Regions from separate parts of the Homo sapiens genome. Here region 2 is linked to region 1. Evidence: promoter capture Hi-C in 16 types of primary human blood cells and fetal thymus (Javierre and others, 2016). All regions are on one chromosome and are shown on one strand. Each heading gives the region's core, a stretch centred on a gene start or on the middle of the fragment in contact. The rest is flanking DNA. Distances are from core to core; before and after follow the strand shown.

Region 1 (2,625 bases), core at 33-2,532:
CAAAGAGATGCAGCAATCTTACTCAATACTACTACCACTCTCACGCATCTCATTCAACTCCATTTAAAACCACTGCAGCAAGACAGCTGGTACTCTCCTTCCTGTTTCTTTACCGTACAGGCTTAATAACAAAAACAGGTTGGTTTTGAAGCCCTGCTCAAATATTGCAAAAAGGAAGTCTTCGCATTCGGGAGGGGGAAAAAAGTTTCGACTTCGAGAGAATCTCATAGCTTCCGTGTCATTCCATTTGGGAATCCCAGATCCTGCCAGTGAGGTAGATGCTCGCTCTCTCGGTTAACTTTTCCACCCTAGATGCCCTCAAACTGCCTAGGAAGCAACTAAGTCTCCCAACGACCCATGGCTAGTTTTGTTAAGGCAGGTACAAGACAAGCAGTTTATTTAAACCATGACGAACTGGGTCGATGTTCATAAAATGAGAGATGGGGAGAGCAAAAAAAAAAAAAAAGTAGTAATAAAGACAGCCAAACTCCTAATTTTATCAACCAACTTCCCACTTGCCATTTCCCAGCCTTCACACCAGAGGTAGTAAAACGCCTTTTTACCGAGAAAACTAAGAAGCTACCCGAGCCCAACATGAAAATTCCGCGGACAATTCGTGTTAAAATATTTTTTAAATGCCCAAGTGAGGAGGAAACACAGCAACCAAATCTCACCCGGCTGGGAGGCTGGGGTGGGGGGGGTCCCCGCGGCTTTTCCCTCCCGTGCGTCCCAGAAGCTGCTAAGGAGCCGGGGCAGCAGGAGGACGACGCGGGGAGCTTTCAAAAGGGCTGGGGGAGGCAAGAGGAAGAAAAAACTTTAGGGACAGAAGGGGAAAGTGGGCCCCTGCAGTCCCCCCGCAAACTCCTCGGGTGACCCCTCCGCGCGGGGACCCCCTCGGATCCCCAAGCGGACTGCCACCCAGCTTCGTCTCAGCTCCTACCGCCGCGGGCCGCCCCCCGGGCTGAGGGGAAGCGGCGCGGCCCCGACACCCCGAAACTACCTCAGCGCGTCCCCCGGCCGGCGCGCCCCTCAGTGCCTTGGCAGATCTGAAGCCGCTGGCTCTCGCAGCCTGGGGAACTCGCCCCTCTTCCCTCCGCCTCGCACTCCACCCCCTCGCCCGCCACCGCCTCCTCCTTTATCTCCACTCACCTCCCGCCGCCATTTTCCTCGCAGCTCAGCTTTAAATCGGAAACTCGCCGCTCAGCCCGCAGCCGCCGCCGGCCGCCACCGACTAAGCCGCAGCCGCTGCCGTCGCTGTGGAGCGGCTGAGACAGCAGCAGCTAAAGTCGCCGCACGGGGGCCACTGGGATATGTAGTCCCGAGGCCACGCCCAGCACTACCGGTCCCAGGGGGCCTTGCGCGGCCGGCCTAGGGTTCCAGCGACCCCCACCCTGGCTTCCGCGGCGGAGGGCGTGGCGACGTGGGCTCGTGCGGCCGCTTTCGCCCAGCATCGACTGGGAGCTCCCTCGGGATCCGGAGAACCGGAATGCAGTCCTAGCCCTGCCCTTAATTTTTTTCATATTTGCCTTCGTCCAGTAATACCTAACATTTGTGGAGCGTTTCTGGTATGCCAAGCACGGATCCTCAAAACAAGCATCCGGTAGGGACCATGATCATCCTCATTTTTCAGATGAGCGAACTGAGGCACAAGGTCGGAAGCCACGAGGCTGTTCCTTAGCTGCTAAAGTCACTGGGTGAAATGTTGTTGGGCAGCAGTATATTCAGGGTATATTTAGTCCCGAAGTATCATCCCACAGCGTATTTATGACTTACAATAAAGAACAGCTTGCTTTACAATGGAAAGATCTGGCAGGCACCCCCTTACCAAGTGATCGAACTTAGCACCACCAATAATGGGTCAGGACTGTTGTTATGTGTCTCCTAATATGATGCAGTGGGGAAAGCATATTGCTACCTCTGTCGTATTCTTGCCACATACACACAAAAAGCTTACTTGAAAAAATAAACGAATTCAGAATGTGGGACATTCTACACAACATCTAGCCTGGAGTCTTTTAAAATATGACAGCATGAAAGAGGTGAAAACCAAAAGCAATAGGTGAGACTTGATTGGATTCAGGATGATTTTTTTATGTAAAAAGAATTTGGGGGGCAATTTCAATGTGGACTGTATGTTAGATAATATTGAGTCAGTATTAGATGTGTTGAGTGTAAATAAAATAGAATAATCTGACCACTTACCACCTCCACGGTCAGCACCATCATTTCCCACCTGGACCACTGCAACAGCCTCCTCAGTGTTCTGCCTGCTTCCACTCTTTCCTCTTAGAGTCTATACTCAACACAGCAGCCAGAGGAATCCTGGTAAGAACCAAGTCAGTCTCTGTCCCTCCTGCAAAATTCTTGCAGTAACCTGCAAAGCCCCATACAGCCCGTCTCTTGCCCTGCCCTTCCCTCTCTAAACTCATCACCTTCTTCTCTTCCACTCACTTCTGTAACTCAGCTACAATGGACTCGGCCTCTCCAACGTGCTTAGCACACTCTGGCCTTAAAGATCGTGCACTTGCTATTTCCTCTGCCTAGAACAGTATTTTCCCAGAAAATTCAAATAACCCATTCCCTAATCTCCCCATGGTCATTGTCCAAATGTCACTTATTCAGTGA
Region 2 (2,625 bases), core at 71-2,570, 260 kb after region 1:
CAGCTTGTCTCTTTCCCTCCTTGGCTTCTTAAAACCCACAGCTTACTGAATGAAAATCCTTGCTGGAGTAATCAGGCTCATGTCTTTTTCTGGGTAATACTGATCTTAAAAAGACAGACATAGGCCGGGCGCAGCGGCTCACGCCTGTAATCCCAGCACTTTGGGAGGCCGAGGCGGGTGGATCACAAGGTCAGGAGATTGAGACCATCCTGGCTAACACAGTGAAACCCCGCCTCTACTGAGAATACAAAAAATGAGCTGGGCATGGTGGCGGGCACCTGTAGTCCCAGCTACTCGGGAGGCTAAGGCAGGAGAATGGTGTGAACCCAGGAGGCGGAGCTTGCAGTGAGCCGAGATCGCGCCACTGCACTCCAGCCTGGGTGACAGAGCAAGACTCCATCTCAAAAAAAAAAAAAAAAGAAAAGAAAAAGAGGCAGACATAATCCTTATTTAAAGGAGTTTGATGTCAGGGAGCATAGTCCAAGATCGGGGTGCTGGCTTGTACCTGGGTGTGGTGTGTGTTCCCCAGATATCCTCTCTGGGGCATAGGCTCACCTTACCGGGGGCTGAGGCCTGTGCATCCATAACTGAGCCACCTTTACAAATGAGCTCCCGTGTGGTCATCGCCTCTACGTGCTGCTCAGTGCTTCTGGCTCTAACCTCCCTTCCAGCCCCTCCTCCCTGCCTGCCCTCACTTACTCAAATGCTCTGTATTCCTAGACATATCTTGGCTGATGCTGTTCCCTCCAGATTCTCACTTTCCGCCTGTTGAAATCCTACCCTTTATTCCCCACCAGCCCAGCTCCTCCAAGATGACATACTCCATATGGCAGCGTTTTTCAAACTTGAGTCATTCACATTCATTGTCTTTCCCGTTCTCAAGTCCTGCTTGTATAATTTTTGACTTTTTTTATTTAAAGAATCTTTTTTTTTTTTTTTTTTTTGAGACGGAGTCTCGCCCTGTCACCCAGGCTGGAGTGCAATGGGGCGATTTCGGCTCACTGCAACCTCTGCCTCATGGGTTCAAGCGATTCTCCTGCCTCAGCCTCCCAAGTAGCTGGGATTATAGGCACACACCACCATGCCCGGCTAATTTTTTGTATCTTTAGTAGAGATGGGGTTTCACCATGTTGGCCAGACTGGTTTCGAACTCCTGACTTCGTGATCTGCCCGCCTCGGCCTCCCAAAGTGCTGGGATTACAGGCGTGAGCCACTGCACCCGGCCAAGAATCTCATTCTTTAAAAATAAAATTAAGCTCATTTAAAGCGGGACACAGTAGCACGTCCCGTGTAGTCCCAGCTATTCGGGAGGCTGAAGTGGCTTGCTTGAGCCCAGCCGGGGTGATATAGCAAAACTCTATCTCTTTAAAACATAAAATAAAATAGGCCGGGCACGTTGGCTCACGCCTGTAATTCCAGCACTTTAGGAGGCCAAGGCGGATGGATCATGAGGTCAGGAGTTCAAGACCAGCCTGGGCAAGATGGCGAAACCCCGTCTCTGCTGAAAATAAAAAAAATTAGCTGGGTGCGGTGGCAGGCGCCTGTAATCCCACGTAGTCGGGAGGCTGAGGCAGGAGAATCGCTTGAACTCAGAGGGCGGAGGTTGCAGTGAGCCAAGTTTGTGCCACTGCACTCCACCCTGGGTGACAGAGTGAGAATCCATCTCAATAAATAAATAAAATAAACTCATTTTATTTACTTTTCATTTATTATTATTATTATTTTGAGACGGAGTCTCACCCTGTCACCCAGGCTGGAGTGCAATGGCATGGTCTCGGCTCCCTGCAACCTCCACGTCCCGGGTTCAAGCGATTCTTCTGCCTCAGCCTCTTGAGTAGCTGGGACTACAGGCGCCTGCCACCGCACCCGGCTATTTTTGTATTTTCGGTAGAGACGGGGTTTCACTATGTTGGCCAGGCTGCTCTTGAACTCCTGACCACAAGTGATCCGCCCACCTCAGCCTCCTAAAGTGTTGGGATTACAGGCGTGAGCCACTGCGCCCGGCCTATTAGTAATATTTTTTGAGACGGAGTCTCACTCACTCTTTCTCACAGACCGGAGTGCAGTGGCGCGATCTCGGCTCACTGCAACTTCCGCCTCCTGGGTTCAAGGAATTCTCCTGCCTCAGTTTCCCACCACGTCTGGCTAATTTTTTTGTATTTTTAATAGAGACGGGGTTTCCCCATGTTGGTCAGGCTGGTCTCAAAATCCTGACCTCAAGTGATCCGCCTGCCTCAGCCTCCCGAAGTGCTGGGATTACAGGCGTGAGCCACCGTGCTTGGCCTCATTTTTTTAGTAAAAAAATTTCCCCTGAAAAAAGCATCTGCAAGTATAAACTCATTTTAGACTTGAACACCACCCAATAAGAACAGTAGCACACAGTATACATAAAAGCTGGTGATAGGAATAAATCCAATCAAAACCAAAGCAATGCTACTCAATCCTAGATCAGTACCATTGCGTTGGGGGAAGGTTCTGGCCTTGGGGCAGAATTTGTTTTCCTGGTATTGTCCTGGCTATCAGTACCGCCTTCAAACTTTGTCCTGGAGGGAATCAGAAGAGATGAAAAGAATACTTTTCTTTCTGGGTGACTGAGTGTTACTGCTTTGGCCATTGGGAGGCCAT

The links. The method cuts DNA at HindIII sites, captures the fragments that hold promoters and counts their contacts. A CHiCAGO score of 5 or more calls a contact.
Region 2: a fragment that was not itself captured here is called in contact with the fragment with the promoter of NCOA3 in region 1 in 1 of 17 cell types (activated CD4 T cells); the score reaches 6.0 in activated CD4 T cells.

What each region holds. Positions count from the first base shown.
Region 1 is chr20:47,500,544-47,503,168 of GRCh38, reverse strand. It overlaps NCOA3 (nuclear receptor coactivator 3), which reads right to left and starts at 1,282. Exons shown (of 23, transcript NM_181659.3): 1 at 1,150-1,282. RefSeq lists a silencer at 923-1,042 and a cis regulatory region at 2,294-2,366. The HindIII fragment of the contact is 2,001 bases long and covers 1-1,951 here.
Region 2 is chr20:47,239,614-47,242,238 of GRCh38, reverse strand. All of the region lies in intron 14 of ZMYND8 (zinc finger MYND-type containing 8), which reads left to right. Among named protein-coding and RNA genes, the nearest start is that of MIR3616, 74 kb to the right of the region's middle. The HindIII fragment of the contact is 5,013 bases long and covers 1-2,625 here.